Regions from separate parts of the Homo sapiens genome. Here region 2 is linked to region 1. The links are contacts of gene promoters, found by promoter capture Hi-C in blood cells and fetal thymus (Javierre and others, 2016). All regions are on one chromosome and are shown on one strand. Each heading gives the region's core, a stretch centred on a gene start or on the middle of the fragment in contact. The rest is flanking DNA. Distances are from core to core; before and after follow the strand shown. Region 1 holds the start of ZSCAN32 (zinc finger and SCAN domain containing 32). Region 2 overlaps ZNF75A (zinc finger protein 75A).

Region 1 (6,605 bases), core at 2,285-4,784:
TGTTACCCTGGAGGGCTGATTTCTGGCCCTGTGTGGGATCCTTGTTTGAGGATGGGTGTGCCTCGGTACTCTTCACTGCAGCCATCATTTGCTTCAACGAACTGGCTTACTCTGGTTGCCACTTCTACCCTGGAGATCAGAGTCCATCTTTCCCACATCACTGGGAAGCCATGTTCTCCTGCAAGGAATGTCTTTCTGTAATCCGTGGGACATGAGAGTGTCAGACATGTGTAGAGACTCACAGCGGAAAAAAAGGGCTCAACTTTGAAGGATGTCTGAAGAGGATGGAAAAAGACAATATAAACCTATCAAACATTCCTTCACTCTGGTTCTTGTGATTTACTTCCTATCCCTTTCCTTTACTCCCTCCACAAATCTACACCAAGGATCCAAAACACTAGAAATAGATCTAGACCATCCTGGCTAACTGCCTTTGCAAAAACCATTAACAGTGAGAAGATTATGACACTAAAAGAGATAGGATCTAACCAACTCCATCTTGCTTTTAACCTCCAAACTGCCGTTGGTCATTCCTGGGTGTGGGCCAAGCTAGCTTTGGGAGAAATTTAGTTTATAGTTTGAATGATAATAACCCTTCCCAAAACTAAACTGCCTTTGTAAAACTAATTAAAGACAACTAGGTTAGGAGGATGAGAGGGGCCTGAATTCTGCTAAGATGCAGGCATAATGAAATGATTATCCAGAGGTCACAAGATTTGCAACTTCCCCAATTAAATAACATCACGATTGTAGAACCTAAGATTGGCCTTTTGAGATGCCTTTTCAGGCCTCTGCTTTCTGACAACCAGATGGCTCCACCTAGACCAGGGACTCCTCTGTGGCTCCCACCCAAAATCGCACTCAGCACACAAAAACCGTTTTCCACAGCCCTATGAATGCATCCCCAACCAGTCAGCATTCCCTGTTCCCTACCCAACTGCGTGCCAAAGCCCTAGCCTCTGAATTTCCGGGGAGGCTGACTTGAGTAATAAAACTTTAGTCTCCCATTTAGCCGGTTCTGTGCGTATTAAACTCTTTCTCTATTGCAGTTCCCCTGTCTTGACAAACTGGCTTTATCTAGGCAGTGGGCAAGATGAACCCACTGGGCAGTTACAGTACCAAAAAATATAGTCTTCTCCCAGCCAAGATTCTGTGTCTGCTGACGAATTACTCAAACTGTTCCTGACGATATAGTTCACCTGTTCCTTCCCTTCTTCCCTCACACACCTAGGTCTTTTTCCTGTCCTTCCCTATCCTCAAGAAGCCTGAATTCATGTTCCCAATTGCTACCCTCTCCTCGGGGGAGAACTGGTGTGTGTGTGCTTCTTGATTAACTTCTTCATTACTATTACTCCACACACACACAACGTGGATAAGTGACTGTTCGGGTTTGCTGTATGTTTTTATTTTCCAGCATTCCTTTCCCACTTCTAGTAGCAGCATCTTCTTCCTTTGTGAAAAAGTCCCCCTCGACCAGGCGTGGTGGCTCACGCTTGCAATCCCAGCACTTTGAGAGGCCAAGGCGGGCGGATCACGTGGTCAGGAGATCTAGACCATCCTGGCTAACAAGATGAAACTCCGTCTCTACTAAAAATACAAAAAAATTAGCTGGGCATGGTGGCACGCACCTGTAGTCGCAGCTACTCGGGAGGCTGAGGCAGGAGAATCGCTTGAACCCGGGAGGCGGAGGTTGCAGTGAGCTGTGATCACGCCATTGCACTCCAGCCTGGGCAACAAGAGCGAGACTGTCTCAAAAAAAGAAAAAGTCCCTCTCATTGGTTCTGGTGGGGATATTAATTACAATACCCACTTCCCCAGAAGTGGGCATATGACACACAGCTAGGCCTATCAAAATTCTTTTCTCAGATTTTACATGAGAGGTAGGGAAAGCTCTTCATTTTCTAGGAATTGGTAAATTGGGCAAATGTAAGATCAGAGTTGTCTCCAACTATGTCCCACTCTCTACTCCACTCTTCCATCACAGGAGTGAGCCTGTTTACAAGAGGACAATATACTCAAGTCTTGACAACATGTTTGGATCTCCAAGGCCAGTTTATGTAAGGCAATATTTTTTTAAGAGTTAATTTTAAAAATAGTTTTATATAATTTAAAATTAATAAATAACTTTTAAAAATAATTTTATTTGTTTTTTTATCTTTAGAGATGGAGTCTCACTCTGTTGCCCAGGCTGGTCTCAAACTCCTGAACTCAAGCAATCCTCCCACCTCAACCTCCCAAAGTGTTAGGATTACAAGTATAAGCCACCATGCCCGACCTTAAAAATAATTTTAAATAGAAGCTAACTTTTGTATTTTTTGTAGAGGTGGAGTTTCACTATGTTGCCCAGGCTGGTCTCAAACTCCTGTGCTCAAGTGATCCTCCCACCTTGGCCTCCCAAAGTGCTGGGATTACAGGTGTGAGCCACTGCACCCGCGAAGGCAGTCTTTTTTAATGAGTTTGTGTTGGTTTTTATCTACTTAAAACACAGATTAAAGCAGATCGTAATTTACATTTTCTCCAGGGGCTGATACACCCTCACCATGTGGTATTAAAATGGATCCAGCATGCACAACAAGATGAATATACTCAGGACTACTGAGCTGTACACTTAAAAATGGTTATGATGGTAAATGTTTTTTAAAAATTAAAGAAATTTTTTTATATTTTAAAAATGGATTTGGGTTCCCTTTTCTCAAGGAACTTGAACTGCCTTCACTTAAATTCTCTTTACATTTCAGTGCTTCTAGAGATAGAGAAATCAAGGGCATTATTATTGTTAGCACTGCTTTCTAGCCAAAAAGAAACTGAGAGCGATGAAGTATCTTGCCTAAAGCATCACACAGCACAGCTCCTAGGCAGCAAGGCCAGGACTAGAACCAGCACCCCTTGCCTTCATTATGTTCATCCTGTGCCTTACCTGGCTGAAGAAGAATTTAATAAAAGCTCTTCTAACTTCATGCAGAAGGCGGAACCTGCACCCTTCTTGACCCCTTTTGACCCCTTACCTCCCACTCATCGTTAAATTTTAAAATGCTGTTCTCTGAAAATTTTACTTCACTCTAGCGATGGCCCAAACACTCGGAAAAAAATGTAGCATGAGGATGGGGAGCCAGGTTGATAGGTTTTTCACTTAGTTAACTATTTATTGAGTACTCAGAACGCACTCGGTGCCAGGGCTAGGCACTGTGGATGAGTAGGGAGTGGGCGAGACAGGGACGAGATGAGCAGGGTCAAGGCCAGGGGGTCCCGGGGCGCCGGCGCTCAGGCTCGGGGTGATCCGCACGGTGGGAGCGGGGCACGGTGATCGCGGCGCGTCTGGGGACGCCCGGCCTGAGGGAGGCTGCCTGTCCCAAGGAGACGCCCATCGGGGCCGGACCCGAACGCCTCGGAGAAGACTCCCAGCGGGGAGGGGCTCCTCGGCCGTCGCAGGGCCCAGCGGCTAATCCCGCCGGCCGCAAGGAAGCGGAGAACTCACCGGACACCAGCACTCGCGACTCCACAAACTCCCTCAGCCTCCGGGCCGGAAGTCAGCGGCGCGATTCGCTCCGCCCATTACGCACGCCCCTGCGCAGGCCCGCAAGCCGAATTGCCGGACTGCAGCTCCCGGGATGCACTGCGACGGTATTGACAGGCGCAGCAACCAATAGACGGTAGAGAATGCCCTTGGCAGGAGGCGGGCCCTGTCAGTAGTTGTCCTCAGCAGCTAGTGGGCGTCTCCGCAGCGAGTGGCATCGGCCCCGCCCCCAGCCCGTGCTCGCCGGTGTCGGGTCCTAAGTCCCTCGGTCTTGGGTTCCCGGAGAGGTGAGTCGGCTGCAGGTGGGTGCGGGGCGCCGGGCTGTTCGGGGTACCGGTGTCGCAGTCGCCAGTCCGAGCTCACACCGGGCGTGGAGTTCAGCTGCGCATCGGGTTGCGGCAGCTTCGCCAGGCCTGGGGCTGGCTGGGCCGCGGGGCCGCCCTGGAGGCCGGAGCCACTGGGCCTGCGGCGCCTCGGCAGCGAGCAGCCGCTTTGCTCGCGTGCAGGAGGCTGTTCGCTACCTCACACCCCCGGCTGGCGCTGTGGCCTCGCTTAGCTCTACCGTTTAGCACCCGGCGACATGCACCCGGTCGGTTTCCGCCAGGATGCGGGAGAGTTGGGGCAAGCTACCTGCGACAGCTTGAACTTTTCCTAGGGATTCCGCTCCACCCGCCGGTTAGAGCGTATTGCTCATTAAATCCGAGACCTGTGTGCTTGCTACTGAAATAAAAGAAGTATTTTTTCCCCAGAGTCCTTTTAGGACGTTATGACTTTTCTCCTTTGCAAGACTGCAAAAAACTGACAAGAAGACAAAACTCTTCCCACTCCCAGGGACCGCGTTGTCTTGAGTTTGGCTAGTAAAGGCTAGCAAGTGAGGCTTTGTCTCTGCATCCCGTTCCCCCTAACATCCTCAGAGAACCTTCGTTTCTAGAATCTTTCTAGTATTCAGAGACTTCTCCAGGGTCATGATCCCAAAGGCTTAACCCGTTTACAAGGAGAGAGTTGTCTCCTGACGCCCAAAATGGCAGCTAAAATGGAGATAACTTTAAGCTCCAACACTGAAGCTTCCTCCAAGCAAGAGAGACACATAATAGCCAAACTAGAAGAGAAACGGGGCCCTCCTCTGCAAAAAAACTGCCCAGATCCTGAGCTCTGCCGCCAGAGCTTCAGACGCTTTTGTTATCAAGAGGTGTCTGGACCCCAAGAGGCTCTCTCCCAGCTCCGACAGCTCTGCCGTCAGTGGTTGCAACCCGAGCTGCACACCAAGGAGCAGATTTTGGAGCTTCTGGTGATGGAGCAGTTCCTGACCATCCTGCCCCCGGAGATCCAGGCTCGGGTCAGGCATCGATGTCCAATGAGCAGCAAGGAGATTGTGACCCTCGTGGAAGATTTTCACAGAGCATCCAAGAAACCAAAGCAGTGGGTAAGGAGGGTCCTCTCCCATCATCCTGGGGATTTCTTTTTCTTTTCTTTTTTTTTTTTTTTCTTTTTTTGAGACGGAATCTTGCTCTTTCGCCCAGGCCCGAGTGCAGTGGCGCTATCTCGGCTCACTGCAAGCTCCGCCTCCCGGGTTCACGCCATTCTCCTGCCTCAGCCTCCCGAGTAGCTGGGACTACAGGCGCCCGCCACCGCGCCCGGCTAATTTTTTGTATTTTTAGTAGAGACAGGGTTTCACCGTGTTAGCCAGGATGGTCTCGATCTCCTGACCTCGTGATCCGCCCGCCTCGGCCTCCCAAAGTGCTGGGACTACAGGTGTGAGCCACCGTGCCCGGCCGATTTCTTTTTCATCTGGGTAATGTTTGGTATCTGGATCTCTCCCTATTTAAGTCTCAGAAGTGGACTGGATGGCTTCAGAAGTTGCTTCCAGCCTCTATCTGGGAACCTATCCTGAGTTATTAACAGGTTTTTAGAAAATCCAACTACTGATACCCAGTGAGGCAACAGAGGACCAAGGTTCTTACCATTCCTTTATGCACCTTGTGTCACCAGAAGTAATTGTAAGGTTCTTAAATCCCTTCTGTCAGCTCTTCCCCCACCCAACTTAGTTTTCCTACTAGCAGAATTCTTAGCAGATAGGGTCACCCTGTTGGGTAGCAGTTGGACTTTGGGGAACTTCATTTCATTGGAAGTTCTAGCTTATTGTCTTTCCAGTGTTTAGCTTATAGTCTTTTTTTTTTTTTTTTTTTTTTTTTTTTTTTTTTTTTGAGATGGAGTCTTGCTGTGTTTCCCAAGCTGGAGTGCAGTGGTGCCATTTCAGCCCACTGCAACCTCTGCACCCCAGGTTCAAGCGATTCTCAGGTCTCAGCCTCCTGAGTAGCTGGGTTTACAGGTGCCTGCCACCACGCCCAGCTAATTTTTGTACTTTTTAGTAGAGAGGGGGTTTCACTATGTTGGCCAGGCTAGTCTCGAACTCCTGACCTCAAGTGATCCTCCCGCCTTGGCCTCTCAAAGTGCTGGGATTACAGGCGTGAGCCACCACACCTGGCCTAGCTTTTTGTCTTTGATTTTTTTTTTTTTTTTTGAGACTGGGTCTCACTGTGTTGCTGAGGCTGGAGGGCAGTGGCACGATCTCAGCTCGCTGCAACCTCCATGTCCAGCTCAAGTGTTCCTCACACCTCAGCCTCTCAAGTAGCTGGGACTGCAGGTACATGCCACCATGCGTGGCTAATTTTTGTACTTTTGTAGAGACAGGGTTTCTCCACATTGCCCAGGCTGGTCTTGAACTCTTCTTGGGCCCAGGCGATCCGCCCGTCTTGACCTCCCAAAGTGCTGGGATTACAGGAGTGAGCCACACAATGCCTGACTAGCTTATTGTCTTTGGATCAGGAAGTTACAGTTCAACTGGCCAGCGTTGCCATTGCTTGCCACTCCCCGCCCCGAAGTCAGACCCCAGTCAGGACCTAGGCAAGAAGCAAACGGCAGGTACTTCGGAAAATAGAACTTGTTAGGGAATGAAGGTGGGGTGGTCCTCTTAGACCCCTACTACTACTGGGATCTCCTTACCAGGAAAGCCTTTGGCAGAACAATGTATTAGGTAAGAAGGACTTTTAACAGCCCCTCACCATACTGCTTCCTGTTCCTACAGGGCCTA
Region 2 (6,605 bases), core at 1,706-4,205, 80 kb before region 1:
TTGGATTTTCTTTCTTTTGTCATTGGACACGGTTTGCAAAGTTGGACATCACTTGAGTTCCTTCTTAAACTTTTCGGCAACTTCTCTTGGATCCTGTTATCACAGTTTTTTACTGTGATGAAATCTTGTTAACCACCACTAGGGAATCTCCAGATGAACTATTAATGCACTGTCTTATGCCTCTCATTGGTGATGTTTGGAAAATAGAAGACATCTCTAATGGAATCATGGGGGAAACGGGTTGGAATTTGTAGCCATGGAATATATATTAGATGTAAAGAATTTTCTGCAATAAAAGAAACTAGACTTGTTAATCCCTGCCTTGCAATGTCAGTAGGATAAAGCAGCTATAAAAATTAGTACTTGCCCAAGGCCTGAAAGAGAATTAGTGGGAATTAAGATCAACTTCTCAGTTTTGTTTGTTTACTTTTTAATTGGCTTTTCTTTGTTGTTAAGAATGAGAGACTTAATTTCCATGGGAGTTGGAGTGTGTGTGCTGCAGGCAGGATCCTGTGGCTCATTTGGCATGGAGACCTGGACATGTAGTCAGCAGGAGACGGTTCCCTAAATAAAAGATTTGGGCACTGGTGCTAAGTGTTGGGCGAGGATGAGCAAATCTACATCCATGTTGTTCTGTCCTGTCCTGTAAGCTCTACCTGTCTTTGTTCTTTCCAGCACAGCATTTAACAGCAGCCTCAGGTGATAAATTTGATGGATTGCCAAAAGTCTGTATAGCCTATGGATTTTCTTACAACTTGCTTGTTTAGCTACAGCAGTGACTCAGGTGCATTCCTTTTAGAGCTCTTAGGTATATCAGGAAAGGGGTTAAATAACTGACCTCTTCCAAACCTCTTATTTTATTTTTTTTGAGACAGAGTTTCGCTCTTGTCACTCAGGCTGGAGTGCAATGGTGTGATCTCAGCTCATTGCATCCTCCACCTCCCAGATTCAAGCAATTCTTCTGCCTCAGCCTCCAGAGTAGCTGGGATTACAGGCACCCACCACCACGCCTGGCTAATTTTTTGTATTTTTAGTAGAGACGGGGTTTCACCATGTTGAGCAGGCTGGTCTCGAACTCCTGACCTCAAGTGATCCACCCGCCTCGGCCTCCCAAAGTGCTGGGATTACATGCATGAGCCACTGTGCCCAGCCTATACTAATTGTTTCTTAAGTACAGCCAACTCTGGAGCTCTGGTCTACATAGCTCTTACCCAGCACCACCTTAACTTAAGACCTCCAGGATTCTGTTTCTTCTCCCAGATCATGTGTGGCTTTCTTTCTGGCCCTACATTCATTCATTCTGTTCAATTTAATGAAGGCCTATGATGTGTCAGGCACTGTCCTATACTCTGAGGACACAGGAGTGGCCAAGAGACAAAATTGCATCCCCTCATGGAACTTGTATTCCAGTGAACAGTAAGAAGAATGGTTTTGCTTTCCTGCTCCTTGCTCTAAGACGGGTATGAGATAGTTTTGGTCAATGAGTTGTGAGCATTGTGAGCCTCTGGCTGAAGCTTTTCATTTTTTTTTTTTTATTTTTTTTTTTATTTTTTTGCTGGTACAAGGCCAGTGCTCTCCTTTCCTGCCTTAATCATGGAACCACATACAGAGAGAGCAGCCATGAAATCAAAGCAGTCCAGAACACTGAGCCACTGCATGGAGGGCGGCTATTCCCAAGAGTCTCCAGACCTATAGTGAACTTTGTGAGAACAAGAAATAAACATTTGTTCTGTTAAATCACTGAGACATTGGTGCTATGTGTTTCTGTAGCATAACCTGCCCTATCTTTTTTTTTTTTCTTGAGACGGAGTCTCGCTCTGTTGCCCAGGCTGGAGTGCAGTGGCGCAATGTCAGCTCACTGCAAGCTCCGCCTCCTGGGTTCATGCCATTCTCCTGCCTCAGCCTCCCAAGTTGCTGGGACTACAGGTACCCGCCACCACGCCTGGCTAATTTTTGTATTTTTAGTAGAGATGGGGTTTCACCTTGTTAGCCAGGATGGTCTTGGTCTCCTGACCTCGTGATCCACCCGCCTCGGCCTCCCAAAGTGCCGGGATTACAGGCGTGAGCCACCGCACCTGGCCAACCTGGCCTATCTTAATAGAGCTTGGAAAAGGGCAGCTGGGGGAGTGACTGTTTTGCTGGAGCTCTGGACCTTTCCATTTTCATTCTGCCTAGCCTTTGGCCCTCAAAAGAGACCTGGCTTCCCGTGGATACTAAACTGAGCTGATGCAACACTAATGGGACCACTTAAGACCTCCCAAGACTGTAGATGATAGGGAAGAAAGACATTGCTGTCTTGGACAAATCTTATGGGAGGTCAGTTCAAGGGGACAAGGCAACCCTCCTTCCCTATCTGGCCTTATTCCACTTCCCTTATTCTTTGTCTCCCTGCGCGTTGCCTCATGCACAAAACAGGCATTGCTATTGATGAATGGGCTATGGTGGGGGTTAGGGGGTAGGGATTGCCTTCCTCATATGCATGCAGGAGATTTCAAAGAATGGTTTGTTAACTACCTCTGTTGTATCTTCAGTGAGTTGTGCCTCAGAAAACAGATGAGATATAGGGCAAAAGCAAATTTGTCCAGATCAGTGTAGACAGTAAGGTGGCTATCTTCCTGGACTAAGGGATGACGGACAACTGGGGAGAAACTTGGGCAGGGAGGCAGGAGCAAGACAGTTCCACCTGTGGAGTGAGAATCCTCCAGGGGGAAAGTCGTAGCTTAGCCAGTACCCAGCTGCTGCACATAACATGATGTCTCATAACAACCTTGGAATTTGTGGGGTGGGGAGTGGAAGAAGGGATTTCTGTAGCTTGAGATGAGATTGGATTACTAAAATGATATCAGATGATATGAGAACAAATTACTTAAACCATGATATTAAAATCTATTGAGGCTTGCTTTAAAAATGAAATGAGAGACACATAATCCTAGGTTTAGCCTTAAACATTAGTACTAAATGCACTAATTAGTACTAAATGCACAAATATGTCCTCCATAAACCGGCAGATGATTTCCAGGAAACAAGAAGGATGCTTTATTTTAGCATGTTCAGATAGCAGCCTTACCGTGGCTTCACGGTTATTTCAGAGAACTGTATCATTGACCCCGTCTAGTCTCCTGACCTGTCCCCTGCACTAGTCTAAGTTCAGTGCTGGGACCATCCCAGACCTAGAGTTCTCCCTGCCGTTAAGCAGACTGGACCTTGAGCTCACCTTGAGAACCTCAGATATATTTTATTTTTGAGACAAGGGTCTCTGTTGCCCAGGCTGGGGCTCACCACAGCCTCGATCTCCCAGTCTCAAGCAATCCTCCCACCTCAGCCTTCTGAGTATCTGGGACTCCAGGCACGTGCCACCATGCCTGGGTTATTATTTTTTTACTTTTAGTAGAGATGAGGTCTTGCTATGTTGCCCAGGCTGATCTTGAACTCCTAAGCTCAAGTGATCCTCCTGCATTGGCCTCCCAAAGTACTGAGATTACAGGCATGAGCCACCATGCCCAACCTCAGATATCTTTTAACTGGAGGGGAAGAACAGGAGGGGCTTAGAATCAAAGTAAATCTCAAAACTAAAACTCCTAGGGTTTCTGTTAACTTTTGGAACTACTGAGAACAGTGTTTAATTTCCCAGGTAAGTTTGAGGAAGAACGCCCAGCAGCCTCTTTTATCCAAATGGACAATTGGTAACAAAAGATGGGAGTTCATAAAGGATTTTCCAAATATTTGTTGAGTCATGCCACTGAAGCATTTACTCCAGCATTTCCTGGTCACTCCTCCCTGTCATGTGTGATGAAGGCTGCCCTGTTACTCTTCTCTTGGAGGTTTTCTAGTGCATAAATACTTGCTGAAGCTCTCCCCACATTCTCTGTGGACTGAATTCTCTCCTATGTAGACTCTCTGAAGTCCCCTCAAGTGGGAAACAAAGTTTTGCCCATACTTCACGTTTCTACTGTTTGTCCCAGTAGAAATCCACCCAAACAAAAAGCATACTTTTGTTTCTGAATCTTTTCTACACCTGTCACTTTTTCTTGTGTGGGTTCACTGGGGACCGAGATGAGGGCACTGTTTGAAACATCAACCAAATTTGCTACATGCCTAGGTTTCCTTCATGTATTAATCCTCCACTGGGCAATGGTAGTTGGGCTGTACTGAAATGCCTTCTTCAGTCGAGCGTCTGTAAGGCTTTTCTCCTGTACGATTCACCCAAATCTGATAATGCGTGTACTTTGCCTAAAGCAGTTCGCCTAGTCTGAATCCCTCCTGTGAAAGGAATTAAGCAAGCTACCTTTTGCATTGCATTTCAGATTTAAGAAAACTATCTGAATCACTTTTCATTTCTGCCACAGTTCAGATAATGAATCTTGAGTTGCACCAATCTTAGCGCTGACATTAAAAATCAAGCTTTACAGTGTTTGGATATGATGCACCTTTTAGGAGAAACTAAGAAAGCTTACTGTTGAAATTTTTTTTTTTGACAAGTTAACATTTATTTTTGGGCCTTTCTTCCTATGTGTATTTCAAGTCTTTTTCAAAACAAGGACCCAGGAATCTCCAGATTCAATTATGTCCCTGGGCTTGGTCGACTGCTCCCGGAGTCTTAGGAAGCCTTGTACAAATGCTAGAGTTACTCATTCACCAACATTAAACCCTAGGATAGAAGATTCAACAAAGCAGGACTACTTCCGCCGACAAGGAGGCAGCCAATGTAGAAAATGCTGGAATTTTTCCTTGGAACTGGACTGTGATGAGAGGTACTTGCCATGAACCTAAGCTACTGTCTTTTTTTTTAACCCTTCCTTTCCAGTTTTTGAAGATAAAGCAGGAAATAGTCTTTGAAGATACTTGATAAAAAAAATCTCAAAAAAACAAAAACACATGCTTCCACTTCATTGATAAAAATTTACTGCAGTTTGGCACCTGGGTCTAGTTCAGCTGGCAGATGAGCTGATTGATGCATTCACCCCAATAGCCAGATGTGCCCATCTCCTTGAGGAAGCCCACTGTATTTTTGGTAGCATGATGGACCACTGAGAGGTGGAAAGGGCAAAAGAACCATGAGATCTCCTGGAAATGCTTCACTGGGAGGCAATTTCATGAATGAGGTCTTCCAAGCAAATGACACCAAACTTCCCCAGGTGCTCCTCAATCACTGTGTTGTCTGTCAGAGGGATGGTGTTCTTATTGACCTTGGCTTGTCCATGTTTCAGAATGAATTCCCGGACAGACTTCAGATTTGGAAATCCCCAGATCACATAAGGTTCCACTATACGCAGCATTTTTAGGTTCTGGGGGGTGACTTTTACAAAGACACCACTAAAAATTTTCTTAAGATGAAGTCTTGCAATGGCTGTCTGCACCAGTAGACTCACGCCAACAATCCTTTTGCTGCATACAACAAAGGCCAAGGAATGTTTATCTGGCAATTCCAAGGCACGAGGTTTCATTTCTAGTCATCTGAGACACACCTTGTCACATTTCTGCCACCAGGAATTATGTAGGAATGATTCCAGTCCCTTAAACCTGAGCCCTTTTCCTTTCCGCTGCTCCTTCTTTGCCAAAAGTGCCTGCTTTGTCTGAGTGGCTTTGAGGACTTGATAAGCCTTCCTCTTTTTCAGGAGATTTTCTGGAACCAAAGGGATTTTTCTTTGCTTTTGCTCTGCCATCTTTCTAGTGTTGTAGCTGCTGATCCTTACTGTTGAATTTTTAAAACCAATAGGTATACTTCCAACATAATTTTCACACTAAGCATTTGCCCATGATTTGTACAATCAACTGAATGATTTCAAAGCATTTGAAACAATCAAAAAGTAAAAGATCTTTACTGTTCACAAAGACAAAATTAAATATTTGTAGCATTAGAAAAATTCCTAAAATATTTAGTAGCATAGGGAACAACAGCTTGTTACACAGAAGAGTTAGGAAAAAAAATTTTTTATTTTATTTTTTGGAGACAGAGCCTCACTCTATCCCCCAGGCTGGAGTGCAGTTGCCCGGTCTCGGCTCACTGCAACCTCCTCCCCAGTTCAAGCAATTCTCGGGCCTCATGCTTCCCAAGTAGCTGGCACCACAGGTGTGCACCACCACACCTGGCTAATTTTTTGTGTTTTAATAGAGATAGGGTTTCAACGTGTTTCCCAGGCTGGTCTCGAACTCCTGAGCTCAGGCAATTCACCTGCATAGCAGAGTTAATAGATGGGCAAAGGCCATTGAGTTGAAGAAAGCACATTATGATGCATCAGCCTCATGTTCTGGGACCAAATCAAAGTACTCACTCTACTGAATTGACCAAGCAACCATGAGAAAAATATCTAACTAAACTGCTCAGTGTTGTAATGGATTTCTCTCTACGTATGTTTGTTTTATAAATATGTTAGAGATGGGAGTCTTGATATGTTGCCCAGGCTGGCCTCGAACTCCTGGACTCAAGTGATCCTCCTGCCTAAACCTCCCCAAATCTGGGACTGCAGGTGCATGCCATCACACCTAGCTCCTACACACACACACACGTATATATATGTACATACATACATATACATACTTACATATACATATATATGCTTACCTCAAATATATTGCAGGTTTGGTTCCAGGCCCATGCAATAACA

What was found. The method cuts DNA at HindIII sites, captures the fragments that hold promoters and counts their contacts. A CHiCAGO score of 5 or more calls a contact.
Region 2: a contact is called between a fragment that was not itself captured here and the fragment with the promoter of ZSCAN32 in region 1, in 5 of 17 cell types (erythroblasts, M1 macrophages, M2 macrophages and 2 more). The highest score is 8.0, in erythroblasts.

Annotation. Positions count from the first base shown.
Region 1 is chr16:3,397,470-3,404,074 of GRCh38, forward strand. ZSCAN32 (zinc finger and SCAN domain containing 32) reads right to left here and starts at 3,535. Exons shown (of 7, transcript NM_001284527.2): 1 at 3,476-3,535; 2 at 1-275. The coding sequence starts at 88. It overlaps ZNF174 (zinc finger protein 174), which reads left to right and starts at 3,746. Exons shown (of 3, transcript NM_003450.3): 1 at 3,746-4,937. The coding sequence starts at 4,536. It overlaps LOC105371059 (a long non-coding RNA gene), which reads left to right. Exons shown (of 4, transcript XR_007064949.1): 3 at 1-2,057; 4 at 2,162-2,200. RefSeq lists silencers at 3,173-3,322, 3,873-4,092 and an enhancer at 3,296-3,795. The HindIII fragment of the contact is 4,650 bases long and covers 1-4,576 here.
Region 2 is chr16:3,318,263-3,324,867 of GRCh38, forward strand. ZNF75A (zinc finger protein 75A) reads left to right here. Exons shown (of 7, transcript NM_001302109.2): 7 at 1-589. It also overlaps a transcript of OR2C1 not described here and the pseudogene RPL7L1P19. Among named protein-coding and RNA genes, the nearest start is that of ZNF75A, 16 kb to the left of the region's middle. The HindIII fragment of the contact is 2,887 bases long and covers 1,513-4,399 here.